Regions from separate parts of the Homo sapiens genome. Here all the other regions are linked to region 3. The links are contacts of gene promoters, found by promoter capture Hi-C in blood cells and fetal thymus (Javierre and others, 2016). All regions are on one chromosome and are shown on one strand. Each heading gives the region's core, a stretch centred on a gene start or on the middle of the fragment in contact. The rest is flanking DNA. Distances are from core to core; before and after follow the strand shown.

Region 1 (2,700 bases), core at 109-2,608, 110 kb before region 3:
TATAGAAGAGGATTGGAGAAGTAAACTGATTTCCTGAAGGTCACTGGAGTTCTTACTGGTAGAGGCTATCCCACAGGTGTCTCACCCTATCAGAGAGCTCTTCTTTATTGCAAGTCTAGATGCCTCCCTGTAGGGTCCCAGGCACTGATTCGAGCTCTGCCCAGAAGTTTGCTTACACTTCCCTTTGACAACTGTTACAAATTTAAAGGTAATTGTGATCATGCTCCTCCCCAGCTGGTAGGTGCCCAAGGGTAGGAATGGCATTTAGGGGGAAAGAAGCTGCCTGGGAAAGGGCGACCTTACTGGAAAGACATTAGGGAATGAGGAAAGATGTTTGAGCGGGAACAGAGAGCAGGGACTGGCCACAGAAGGAAGTAGGAAATGCTGGAAGGAAGAAATGCTGATGAGGAAGGAAATAGGGCTGAATAGTGAAGGAATCCTAAGAAGCGATTGGGCTTGGGACATAGAGAAGACTGGGAAACAGCTGGGAGGGAGGCAGGGAGAAACTATGTGCTGTTCCTTGGGATTAGTGGTCTTAGATTACACTGATTGAAAGAGGTGGTTTAGGCTGAGCGTGGTGGCTCAGGCTTGTAATCCCAGCACTTTGGGAGGCTAAGGTGGGCAGACCAGCTGAGGTTAGGAGTTCAAGACCAGCCTGGCCAACATGCTGAAACCCCATCTCTACTAAAAATAAAAAAATTAGCCAGGCATGGTGGCATGTGCCTGTAATCCCAGCTACTCGGGAGGCTGAGGAAGGAGAATCACCTGAACCTGGGAGGTGGAGGTTGTAGTGAGCCGAGATCACGCCACTGCACTCCAGCCTGGGAGACAGAGTGAAACTCCATCTCAAAAAAAAAAAAAAAAAAGATGTGGTTTAGATACTGGATTGAACATCAGAGGTTGGGGATTTGAGCCCCTAGCTCTGCCTCTAACTCTGTGAGCATTTGGCAGGCGACTTTATCTCTTTGGGTCTTAGTTTCTTCATTTCCAAAACAAGAGGATTATGATATCATCCCTAAGGTCCTTCTCAGCTCTCATCTTTTGCACAACACTATTGAATTTCCAAGTTATCCACACTGGGTGCATGATTATAAGTAAAATCAGCAAAATGCCATCCACAGATATCACTGTTATTGACAATACAAGAGTTAAGAAAATAGAACACAATAGAAAGGACTGAGGGACGATGGAAAGAACAGGGAAGAAGTCTGTGTTTCAGTCCTGGCTCTACCACTCTCTGATCACACTGTGTGATCACCAAAGCCAAAAGTATATACATATTTTCAAATACCTACATATTCTTTTCTTTTTCTTTTTTTTTTTATTTGGAGACAAGGTCTCAATTTTTCGTCCAGGTTGGAGTGCAGTGGCGTGGTCACAGCTCACTGCAGCCTCAACCTCCTGGGCTCAAGCAATCCTCCTGCCTCAGCCTCCTGAGTAGCTGGGACTACAAGTGTGTGCCACCATGTCTGGCTAATTTTTAAAATTTGCTGTAGAGATGGGGTCTGGCTATGGTGCCCAGGCTGTTCTTGAACTCCTGGGCTCAAGCAATTCTCTCTCCTTGGCCTCCCAAAGTGTTGGGATTACAGTATGAGCCACTGTACCCGGCAAAAAACCTACACTTTCATAAATGTTTTAGGATGGTGGCTGTGGTAAGCAGAATAATGGCCCCCAAGGGTGTCCATGTCCTAATCCCCTGAACCTGTGAATATGTTACCTTATGTGGCAAAGAGAACTTTACAGATGTGATTAAATTAAGGATTTGAGATAGGGGGTTATTTGTGCAGGCCTAATGTAAAGACAAGAATCTTTATGAGGAAAGGAAGCAGGAGAGTCAGAGAAGGAGGTGTGATGATGGAAGCAGAGGTCACAGTCAGATTGGAAGATGCTGTGACACTGGTATTGAAGACAGAGAGGGGCCACAAGCCAAAGAACACAGGTAGCCTCTAGAATCTGGAATAGGCAAAGAAATTCTAGAGCTTCCAGAAGGAATACAGCCCTACCCAGCTCCTTGATTTTGGGACTTCTCACCTCTAGAATTGCAAGATAGTAAAACTGTGTTGGTTTAAACCATTACATTTGCAATAAATTGTTACCTAGCAATAACAGGAAACTAATACAGTGGCCAATTGAGGCCTCGGTATTTAGTTGGGAGAGGGTTTAACATCAGTGGTTCTCAACCCTGGCTACCATTAGAATGACCTCTGGAGCCCGGGACATTTGGACAGCTCTAAGAGCTCTCCAGCTGACTTCAATGTGCAGCTTGAGTTGAGAATCTAGCTGATAATGGATTTTGTTAGGTAAATGTGATTTTTCTAAGTAAGAGAGTAGGGGCTGTTTTTGAGAGAATCTTTTATATTTTTTTCCTAATTTTTTAAATCACATTTCTATCCCTCTGAAAGAGAAAAAATTAATATTACACTGTTTGAATCAGAAGACAAAACAGACAGAGAAAACTATTATGAGCAAAACCAAGGCTGTTTTTTATGGTAAGTAGCAATTTAAGAATATATATGTTCTGCATTTTTAAACAATTGAACAATTTTGTATCTTCTGGACATACCAAAATTTGAAAATATGTAAAGAAACAATACGTTAACAAAAATGAGAACTTGGAGTCTATGCTCCCCTTTGTGGAAATAGGCTCACCTGGCACATGCTACTATGCGTTTGTAATCAGAGTTTCCGTAGCCTCTGTAG
Region 2 (2,709 bases), core at 119-2,618, 110 kb after region 3:
GGCCAAAGTTAAAGGCAGCTCTGCAAAGTTGTAAGAAAAAAATATGTACCCTTGGGAAACAGCAAAGGGCTTTGGCCTTTACCTGGGGTGGGGAGGGGGGTTATGGATAAACTGTCTTTGTACATTTATGAGCTTATTTGACACCAACTGGTAAAATCCTTCCCTTTTTCCCCCTTCCAAACAGATATGGTAATCTAGATATGAACACTTTAGGAATGGATGGTTTCAACTAAAAGGCACTTCAGCCATTAACTTTTTTTCATGTAAAATTACAGCTCCTGGCTCTTCCACTTTCAAAAATGTGTGTCCATAAACCAAATAATCATTTTTATCTGAATGTAAACCTCATGCAAGGACAGTTAAGTAGTACAACAAAAGTGAGCATTCTTTAAACAGTGTGGACAAAGTGCCCACTGTGAAGGGGAAGAAACTTTCATATACTATCCATTAGTATTTTAAAAGAATAAAATAATGATACTTAAAAAGGAAATCAATTTATAAAAAATCAAGTCTGGTAAAGCCACAATGACTAGCATAGGGCCATTACAAGATAGGTACTCAAAACAAGAAATACTGCCCTGCTCCTGATTCCCTATGAATCTCCAAATAAGGCTTCTTATCTCCCTGAAAGGGAAGACATAAAGTGGCATGCTAATTACAGAGATACAAAACATGCCCACAACAAAATGGTAGAGAACACAACTTCTACACAGAAATCAAGGGCAATTCTATAGAAAATGGAGCACTTAAGAAAAACTCAAGAAATTTTTTTTCTCCTGATCTGGTTCTATTTCAAAGCACATAAATGAGGCAGGAAGGACACAGGGCGGTAAGGTTAATTTTATTATACTCCTCCACGGGCCCTCTACAATGAGTTTTGTTTTTAATATTTTACTTGAAATAGCTATAGAGTCACAGAGACTTACAAAAAATAACAGTGAGGTCCTGTGTACCCTTCACCAAACTTCCCTAATGGTAGGATGTTATGTAACTATAATACACTCTCAAAACCAGGAAACTGACATTGGTACAATCTGCAGCCCTTATTCAGATTTCAGTTTTTACACATTCTCAGGCACATGTGCGTTCGTGCATGGGTGGTTCTATGTAATTTTATCTCAGGTGCAGATCTCCATCATCACTATCAGGATACAGAACTGTTCTATCACTACAAAGAAACTGCTTCTGTGCTGCCCTCTATGTCATCACACCACTACCACCCTCCACCCCCTTTGCTAATCCCTGGCAATCACTAATCTACTCCCCATCTCTACAATTTTGTCATTTTGAGAATGTTTTCTAAATGAAATCATACAGTATGTAAACTTTTGAGATTGGCTTTTTTACTGGGTATGATGCCCTTGAGAACCAGCTCAACTGCTGCATATATAAAGAATTCATTCCTACGTACGGCTTAGTAGTACTCCACTATAGAGATGTTCCGAACTGTTTAACCATTCACCTGTCAATGGCCAGGTTGGGAAACACCTAGGTTTCCAGTTCTGGGCTACTGGAAATAAAGCTGCTATGAACACCCATCTATAGGTGTGTATGTAAACCTTGGGTTTAATGCGATAATGGAAATGAAAGTTTCAGGCACAGTCCCTAGCATGATAGGCAAACAATGTTAACTGACTCTCAATATGATTAAACCACCATTTCCTGATAAAAGCTCATCTTACCACTGATAACACAGTTCTTGAAGGAGGCCTCTACCAAATGTTGGGGGTATAAAGCCAAGTGAGACACAAGCCTTGTTCCTGAGAAACTCAAGTCACAGCTCAGTGTGTCTTTCCTCACATTGTTCCTGGCATACCCTCAACAATATCTACTGAAACTTCACTCACCCCTCAAGGACCAGCTCAAACACCACTCCTCTGTAAAGCTGCTTTCTCTCCAGACGGCACTGATCATCCTAGGCTCTCCAGCACTGTGCCAGTCCCTCTATTTCTAATTCGTGCTTCAATCTACTTTGCAGCACAGTTATCTGCATATCTGCTGGTTCTCTCCCTGCTAGACTATAAGCTCTTTGGGACCAAGGATCCATGTTTATCTTTGTATACTGCAGAGTCTAGCATGGTGGCTAGCCTTTAAAATCTCAATAAATATCATCTCAGTCTGGTTAAGAAGCTAATGTTTTAACACATATAGAATCCTTTTTATTTTTGACTGAAATTTTTATCCTTAATTCTCCTCCTGTAGTTGAAATTTTTATTGAGGTAACGCAGATTCACATGCAGTTGTAAAAAACAGTACAGAAAGATCTCTTCTACGTTTTGCCCAGTATCCTCCAATGCTAAAGTTTTATGAAATTAATGCAGATCCCTTTTAAAATCATAATTTCAGATTTCATAGTCTTCACATGAGATCACCACTACATTCATAATAGTAATGACAAACATGAACAAAAAACCTAGGTATAATAAAATGCAAAACCTGGTTTAATAAGAACTGAAAAATAACTGTTAGGTTTTCTTCAACTAATTGAAGAATACAATAAAAATTCTCTCATTCTTAGTACCTGAAGACAAAAATCTCACCAGTAAATGGCTTCCCTTTTTGGGTTAGCTTAGTTCTTAAATTTTCTGTGTAATAAGATGCCATTTAACTTACAGTATTTGGATTGGTGAGATTCCTTGCATCTGTCAACCAGCTGCTTAAGTGGTTATATGTACTTCTTCTGCAAAAATAAAAGTTTAAATTTGTGAC
Region 3 (2,700 bases), core at 73-2,572:
CCTCTCAAGCAGCTGGGATGACAAGCGTGCGCCACCACGCCCGGGTAATTTTTGTATTTTTAGTAGAGACGGCGTTTCACCTTGTTGGCCAGGCTGATCTTGAATTCCTGACCTCAAGTGATCCTCCCACCTTGGTCTCCCAAAGTGCTGGGATTACAGGCATGAGCCACAGCGCCCGGCCAGGATTCACTTTTATAATTATCAGGAAAACTGTAGGAAGTGTTAATAGGTAAAAGGACCTCATTTCATAGATAAGGAAACTGAGACACAGAGAGAGAGGGAGTTTCTAAAAGTGTTATACAGGTGGCCTATAAACTCTGTAGTGAAGAAAGGAAATGAAGACAGGATAGAATGATCGCGAGAAAATGGTAAGAACAAGGGACTGGAAGACGCAAGGAAGTTTAGAAATACGCTGGCATAGGGGTCTTTTGAGCAGGCACGCTGCTAAGATGATAGGATTATAGTCAAGGATGGGGAGCGATTGCACTGGGGATTTCTGGAGCGGGTGCAGCCTCTGATGGTAACATGGTCCAGGGTATACCTTCAAAACGGGAGGCTACTGGAGTGAAAGGCGTCAATGGTGATAACACTTTAAAAAAAACTTCAGTGTTTCCCTAGCATCCAGCCCAGTATCTGCTAAATTCTTTAAAATATCTGTTGAATGCATGTCGTGAACGCCGTGCTCATGGGCAAGCCCCAGATGAAGCCTGTGCAAGTGCTTCTTGCTTTAACTCCCTTGTAGCAATCAGAGGAACATCCTCTGCCTAGGATTCCCAAGCTCCCTGAACCTCACGCGACAGCTGGAGCCCAGGCTGCGTCCGCTTTGAGGTTCATCCGAGCCTGGGCAGTTCGGTCCCTGGAGGGAATTCGCTTTAGATACGACTGTCAGAGAGAAGTGTGCTGATAAGAACACTCGCTCATAGCGCGCAAGCATCAGAAGTGGGGGAGGCCGGGGAGGCGCTGCGCCGGTGCCTCAGGCCGTCCTCGGACACAGGCCCTGAGAAGCGTGTCCGTGTTTCAGAGGGTGGCGGCGGCAGCTTTGTCTCAGCGAAGGCCACAGCACTGCGGGCAGCTGCCGCATGAAACCTCGGCTCCCCCTGACTCTGCACCCGACACTTCACCTGCAACGCAATCCGAAGGCGAAGGCACCGCATCCCGTCGGCCCCGCGCGGCCGGAAGCCTCGCGCCCAAGACTCCCCGGCATCCTAGCGCGCTGGCTGCAAAAGAGGCGGGAAACGCCTCCGCGTCCCTTCCAACAGTACCGGAGAGGGAGAGGGGCGTGGCTGAGACTAGCCCCGACCACGCGCGCGCGGCCCCTCGGCAACCGGCACAACACAACAAAATGGCTGCCGCGCCGCTGGGCCCCTGAGGAAAGAGCCCGAACTTCTCCCGCTCTACCTCAGCCTGCGGGACTGCTCGGCTCGGCTTCTAGGCGGTGAGCGTCAGACCTGGCCGAGCCCGTTCCCCGGCATCCGGCCCGAGCAGTGGGGGCCGGCGGCAAAGGCGGGAAGGCCCGGACCGGGCGTGGTGTGGGCCGGCTTGGGATGGATTCGGGGCGGGGGCGCGTGTCTGGGAATTGGGATTGGACGGGAAAGAGGGGAGGGCCCGGAACGGGCGTGGGGCGGTGGATGAAGGAGGGAGGTTTGGATGGGAAGAGGTGGGGACGGCGGGGGCGATTGGGGATGAAGAACCAGAGTGTGGGGAGGTGTGGAAGTTAGGGTGCGGCGCCCAGAAGGTTGTGGGTCCTGCCACCTGAGCTGAGGGGAGAGCTGGGATGTGCCAGCTGTCTGTGGGGAGTGAGCGGGAGAAAGGACAGTTTGGGCGTCCTGACGGGTTGTCACGGTATCGGACGGAGTACAGTGCGTGGAGAAAGATGACAGGATATGGGGACGAAATGCTAAAAGAAGGGGAAGAACAAACACTTCCGTTATATTCGTTAAGGGACTAGAGAATTTTGAAGCCAGACAAACTTGGGTTGAAGCCTCAATTCTGCCACCTTGTGTAACTTAACCAGGTCTGTGACCCTGGATATGTGTCTGAGCCTTCCTGATCATGTTTCCTCATTTGTCCAAATAATTGCGAATCATTTTTGGGTGTTCACTATTTGTCAGATCCAGTTTTAAGCACTTTGCACGTATTAACCTCATTTAGAATTTAAAATAACTTGTATGAGGTTATCATCCCCATTTAAAAAGTGATAGCACTGAGGACCAGAGAGGTTAAGTAATTTGCCTAAGATCACACAGTAAGTGGAAAATCAGAATTTGAACTCAGGCTGTTTCGTTCCAGAATCCAAGCTTTTAACTGTTCAGGTACATTGCCATTTGTAAATCAGGTTAATAATTCTGATCCTATACAGCTAAATCTTTGAGGATTTAAATTTGGTATTGTCTAAGTGTTTAGTACAGTCCTTCAGTCAACAAATATTTATTGTTTATAGAACAACAGACAAAACCTCTGCTCTCTTGTAGCTTATAGTCTAGAAGGAGAAACAGGCAACAACCAAGTAGTTTCACAAATAATGGTTATAAAATGCTATGAAGGAGACTGCTTGGTGCAGAGATCATGGGTAATAGGGAGATAAAATCTTCTGCATCTTGAGCTTAGATTCTAGCATGGTTCTTCCTACATAAAAGTTGCTCAATAAAATTGAATAATTAATGGAAAGAGATGGGAAGCTTGAGTTTTAGGGTATCTGAG
Region 4 (2,700 bases), core at 156-2,655, 120 kb before region 3:
TATATGCCGTTTGGTTTTTCCTGTTTCACATCATAAGATTATAGAACATCTTCTTAGCTATAGATAAAAGAGACATTAGAGTGTCCAATTCCCTTATTTTATAGGCTATCAAAGAGATTAAGAGGCTTGTCCCAAATCACTGCCAATTAGGGCCAAAGCCAAGACTAGAACTTGGGTCTTCTGATTCTCTACACTGTAGGGGAATCCACAAACACTTATTGAGTCCCTATGATGTGCCCGACATTGTGCCAACTACAGGAGATACTGGCGAATAGAACAGACTCAGACCTTACCTAAGTGGAGCTTTCAGTGTGGTCACGCTAAACTAATAATTCAATCTGATTAAGTAAATCATTGCAAGAGCACAAGTGCCTTGGAGGAGAAGTGCAGGGTTGGGTAATGGGCCCAGCCTGGTTTGGAGGGTCACAAAAGCCTCACTGAGAAAATATGTTCAAATGCATAGGAGTTAGCTGAAGAGGAGCTGGCAGATATTTTAAATGGTGCCAGGCTAATTCACAAAACCTTCTTTGATATTTGACAGCTGCATTGTGGGTTAATTAGGCCACTGTGGCCTGCCCTATTTGCCAAAGTGCTCAGGAAAAGGCAGTCAGACTCCTGTGCCTTCGAAGCAGCACCAGTGGTTCCCTCCTCCCAGCAAGGAAGTGACAGGAGACACCGAGAGGCCTGCTCTGGAGAAGGTCTCCTCACCCCTCGCTGACAGGGAGTGTGGGCATCTTGAACATGACACATTGGTTGTTTTTGCCAAGGGAGTGCCTACAATGTGAGCTTTGACATTAGAGAAAAATAAGTCCTTAGTCCCTGGAAGTGGAAAATCTTAGTGTTATTTACAAAGGCACACTACAAGGCCTTGTGTAGCTTCACCTAACTAGTAAAAAGCAGACTCTTCAAAAGGAGATGCATTCCAGTCTCTGTTAATTACCGTTACATCCGGAGGTCATCTTCATGTTTCCTGTGATAGTTCAGTGGGGCTGGTTAATCTGTGTCTAAGAAACTTCTACTATATCCTGCCTTACTGTTAGAAAATTCAACCCAACAAGCAATATGTAGTGATGTGGAACAGAGATGTATTTAAACTGAGATAGAGTCTTGGGGTTTGATTTCCAATTCTTTTCCTTACTAGGTTGGGAAAACTGCTTTACTTTTCTGAACCTCAATTTTCTTTTCTTTTTCTTTTTTCTTTTTTGAGATGGAGTCTCACTCTGTCACCTAGGCTGGAATGCAGTGGCATGATCTCGGCTCACTGCAACGTCCACTTCCTGGGTTCAAGTGATCCTCCTGCCTCAGCCTACTGAGTACCTGGGATTACAGGCTTGCTAAATTAGCCTGGCTAATTTTTATATTTTTAGTAGAGATGGGGTTTCACTATGTTGGCCAGGCTGGTCTCGAACTCCTGACCTCAAGTGATCTGCCCGCCTTGGCCTCCCAAAGTGCTGGGATTACAGGCTTGAGCCACCATGCCAGGCCTAAATCTCAATTTTCTTATCTGTAAGATGGGGATGATAATGATAATAATTTCTGAATCTTGTGAGAGGCTTGAGACATTAAATGAGAATATATGCGAGAGCTTTTTAATATGATCTGAAGTGCTGCAAAATGTCACTTAAAAATTAACTTCTGTTATGTATCCTCTTTTATAAAGCTCAAATTGAGGCTCAGAGAGAGACCTGGTTAGGGCTGGAGAAAGGTCTCCCGATCCGCCACTCAGTTTCTTTTCACCAGGTTGCTGCACTGGGGCCTGTCTTTTAGTAAAGCAATTGTTGGCGAGAGCAGGTTCCTGGGGGAAATGAACATGTGCCGGAAGGGAGGGAAAGAGAGTAGAGGGTCTCCCTTCAGGGGTATGGAGAGGGCAATGGACGGGGAGGGGGCAGGGACAAACCCACCTACCTTCTCAGTGCGCTGAGGGCTCTGAGGCTAAGCCCGCTCAAGGTTAAGGTTCTCTACTGCTGACTTTCTCCATCTCTCTCAATTTGCCTGTCTTTGTGTGGTTGAAGCTGATCTAGCATAAAATAACAGGCTTTTTAGCACAGTTTGAAAGCAAACTCAGGCTTTAATGATCAGTTTCCTGTTCCTTGGTATTTTCTTTCAAGCAAAGGCCATGTTTTTGTAATACTCCCTTTCAATGGACTGTTCTTTCGGCCCCAGCAAACATTCCTGAGTGGTAGGTTTGAGGAGGTGTTCCAATTTATTGTTTCCGGTGTCCAATAACCTTGGAGGAGTATCTGTCTTCATGCCCTCCAAGGCCATGTTATTTCAGAAAGTTACAGCATTTGAAATCATTCTCTAATAAAAGCAAGTGCCACTAATTCTAAGTAAAGTGAGCTTTACAAATAAGACCAGCTATGAATGTTTAAAAAAAGAAGAAAACAAAAAAACGAACTTCAACAACAGGAGTCCATAAGTGCAAACTGTATGCAGCTGAACTTCAGGAATTTTAGCATCCATTTAAAAAGATATCTTCGGCAAATTCATCTAAATTAGCTAAAAATGCTTGACACGATGAACATGTTGTGTCTCTAGGCCAGTATTCAATCCAGGTCAAGGAATCTAAAGGGTAGATGTACCTACCAAGAAACAAAGTGTTTGTGAGGTGGCCACAAAACAGAAAAGCTGAATTTGATTTCTTTATTTTTTTTTGAGACGGAGTCTTGCTCAGTCGCCCATGCTGGAGTGCAGTGGCGT
Region 5 (2,700 bases), core at 30-2,529, 91 kb after region 3:
ACTCCCTTTATGTACTACAATACATGCTCATGCATGTCTGCTATATGGACAGATCCTACTGTACACACAATTGTTTTCTACTCTTTCGATTGTCACAGCTCCATTTTTATCAGATTTTTGGAATTCTGAATGTTATCCATGTTTTTAATCCATGATTTTTATAAAACTTCAATTTAGTGAGTCAGTTTTTGAAAAAAGTCTCCACTTAGAAAGCTGATAATAAGATTCTGAAAATGAGTTGAGTCTTAAATTTTGTGAAGATTTATAATCATTTATACTTTCCATAACTGTATGTTGTGAAAGGATAACACTGTTCCTCAGTCATCTCCTGTGTGTGCTTGTATATTTGACAGTCTGACTTACTCTCTGTGGTAGGGTTTTAGCAGCAGCAGAAGAAAATAGCAAAATGGAGCAATCAAACTTAGAAAAGTTGGAATTGAATGTCAGAAAACTGCAGCAGGAACTAGACCAACTAAACAGAGACAAGTTGTCACTGCATAACGACATTTCAGCAATGCAACAGCAGCTCCAAGGTATAAGGCAGCAAAACAGTGAAAGTGTGTGATTTCCTTGCCCTTCGTTAGATTCTTTGATTTTTCTTACGACAAGTAATTCCTGCTAATGAGCATGGTGTTTCTTTCTAAAATTAGATTGTGGTAATGTTTGCACAACTTGGAATATACTAAAAGCCTTTGAATTGTACACTTTAAATAGGACATGATATGTGAATTTTATCTCAATAAAGTCAGTTAAAAAAAAAAACCTAATTCATGTTCCTTAGAGAACAATTTTAAAACAGCAAAAAGAAATAAAAATTGCTGTTGACCTCACTCCTCATAGATTCCTAGTAACAGTTTGGTGAATATCCTTCCAGATTTTTCCTAGGGGTGTGTCTAGTTTGAAAAACAAAAACAAAGATGTAAATAATGAAGATTTTAAAATTACCAAATGTTTATAAATATGATAATTTATTTAGAAGAAATTGCTGAGTAATTCTAGCTAATAATATACTTGTTGAACATTTTTTATATCCTTGGTATTTCATTTTCTCACTTAATCCTCATAACATTTTTATGAGATAAAAATTATTTTACTCATTTGTAAATAAGGAAACTGAAGCTTAGTTTTCTTGTGACTGCTTAAATGAGAAGTGACTTGCTAGAGGTCACACAGCTAGTAATTGACAAAGCCAATATAGATAAAAAATTTATTCCCAAATTGCCTTCCTGAAAGGTTAAGTTTCTATTTCTACCAGCAATGCAGAAGGTAGCTGTTTTTAAACACCTAACATTAAGTATTATCTGTAATTTTTTCGTTGTGAGATTTTGAACATGAAAATCTTTAAAAACCTGAGCTCCAAGCCCAAATCTGGATTGTGCATGTAACTCTCTTTTGGCCTTTAATGAGATAGTGTGGCATAGTCATACATGTAACAGGAGTAAGCTTAAAACAACTTCTCTACTTTTTGGGAATGCTAATGGGAATCTGTACAGTAAATACGTATGTATTTCTTATTTCATGAGAATGTCATTTCTTTAGAAAAACGAGAAGCAGTAAACTCACTGCAGGAGGAACTAGCTAATGTCCAAGACCATTTGAACCTAGCAAAACAGGTAAGGTTAACAAATGTAATATTCTAGTAGTATACTGAGGGTATGCAGACCATTGGTTTAAATAACAAAGAAATCAAGTAGGCTGGTTCCTCTTCACAACAGCAGATACCGTAGGGCCATTTATGTAACATAACCATCACATAAATAAAAGTTTTGATGGAGAGCAGTGGTTTGCTAATTTATTTTAGCCTTAGAACTCTTGATACAAACAGTTTTACTCAAAGCTAGTAAGTAGGGTGGTGGCTAGACCAGAGCCCAGCAGCAGTCTCTCAGCAGCCCTTCTTGGGGTTTCAGGGACCAGATGGGCCATCTCTCATCCATGACACAGATGAGGCCTCTAAAGGCTGGGCTTAGATTTGATTACTCCTTGAGCCATAGAGTACCCGCCAAATCTGGGCCTCTATCTTGTCAGATATTGAATATAGCAGATTTTTGACCCTCATACTTCTAATGATTTTCTTAAAGGTAATTCAGTGTTGTCCTGTGAGACTAGTGCTGTAATTCAAAGCACTTCAAACAAGTTCTAGACTTCAGTTTCTATTATGTAAATTAAGAGTTATGCCAGGTGCAGTGGCTCACACCTGTAATCCCAGCACTTTGGGAGGCCAAGGCGGGCAGATCACCTGAAGTCGGGAGTTCAAGACCAGCCTGACCAACATGGAGAAACCCCATCTCTACTAAAAATACAAAATTAGCCAGGCGTGGTGGCACATGCCTGTAATCCCAGCTACTCGGGAGGCTGAGGCAGGAGAATCGCTTGAACCCGAGAGGCGGAGGTTGCCGTGAGCTGAGATTGCACCATTGTACTCCAGCCTGGGCAACAAGAGTGAAGCTCTGTCTCAAAAAAAAAAAAAGTTAACATTAGACACAGGCCATCCCAGCACTTTGGGAGGCCAAGGCAGGTGGATCACTTGAGCCCAGGAGTTCGAGATCAGCCTGGCCAACATGGTGAAACCCCGTCTCTACGAAAAAGACAAAAAATTAGCTGGGTATGGTGGCATGTGCCTGTAGTCCCAGCTACTCGAGAGGCTGAGACGGGAGGATTGCTTGAACCTGGGAGGCAGAGGTTGCAGTGAGCCGAGATCAT

Evidence for each region. The method cuts DNA at HindIII sites, captures the fragments that hold promoters and counts their contacts. A CHiCAGO score of 5 or more calls a contact.
Region 1: a contact is called between a fragment that was not itself captured here and the fragment with the promoter of CNTRL in region 3, in 7 of 17 cell types (naive CD4 T cells, total CD4 T cells, activated CD4 T cells and 4 more). The highest score is 7.4, in naive CD4 T cells.
Region 2: a contact is called between a fragment that was not itself captured here and the fragment with the promoter of CNTRL in region 3, in 8 of 17 cell types (naive CD8 T cells, naive B cells, naive CD4 T cells and 5 more). The highest score is 9.2, in naive CD8 T cells.
Region 4: a contact is called between a fragment that was not itself captured here and the fragment with the promoter of CNTRL in region 3, in 7 of 17 cell types (naive CD4 T cells, total CD4 T cells, activated CD4 T cells and 4 more). The highest score is 9.9, in naive CD4 T cells.
Region 5: a contact is called between a fragment that was not itself captured here and the fragment with the promoter of CNTRL in region 3, in 10 of 17 cell types (megakaryocytes, total B cells, naive CD4 T cells and 7 more). The highest score is 8.7, in megakaryocytes.

What each region holds. Positions count from the first base shown.
Region 1 is chr9:120,966,412-120,969,111 of GRCh38, forward strand. C5 (complement C5) reads right to left here. Exons shown (of 41, transcript NM_001735.3): 33 at 2,650-2,700. Among named protein-coding and RNA genes, the nearest start is that of C5-OT1, 15 kb to the left of the region's middle. The HindIII fragment of the contact is 5,424 bases long and covers 1-2,700 here.
Region 2 is chr9:121,184,340-121,187,048 of GRCh38, forward strand. RAB14 (RAB14, member RAS oncogene family) reads right to left here. Exons shown (of 8, transcript NM_016322.4): 5 at 2,614-2,680. Among named protein-coding and RNA genes, the nearest start is that of RAB14, 16 kb to the right of the region's middle. The HindIII fragment of the contact is 6,237 bases long and covers 1-2,709 here.
Region 3 is chr9:121,073,633-121,076,332 of GRCh38, forward strand. It overlaps CNTRL (centriolin), which reads left to right and starts at 1,323. Exons shown (of 44, transcript NM_007018.6): 1 at 1,323-1,435. It also overlaps a transcript of C5 not described here. RefSeq lists silencers at 587-783, 1,408-1,467, 1,588-1,727 and an enhancer at 898-1,287. The HindIII fragment of the contact is 4,047 bases long and covers 1-2,295 here.
Region 4 is chr9:120,950,287-120,952,986 of GRCh38, forward strand. It overlaps C5 (complement C5), which reads right to left. Exons shown (of 41, transcript NM_001735.3): 41 at 2,049-2,582. The coding sequence ends at 2,453. C5-OT1 (C5 3' UTR overlapping transcript 1) reads right to left here and starts at 2,545. Exons shown (of 2, transcript NR_148450.1): 1 at 1,906-2,545. The HindIII fragment of the contact is 6,552 bases long and covers 1-2,700 here.
Region 5 is chr9:121,164,568-121,167,267 of GRCh38, forward strand. It overlaps CNTRL (centriolin), which reads left to right. Exons shown (of 44, transcript NM_007018.6): 35 at 376-533; 36 at 1,540-1,613. Among named protein-coding and RNA genes, the nearest start is that of RAB14, 36 kb to the right of the region's middle. The HindIII fragment of the contact is 324 bases long and covers 1,118-1,441 here.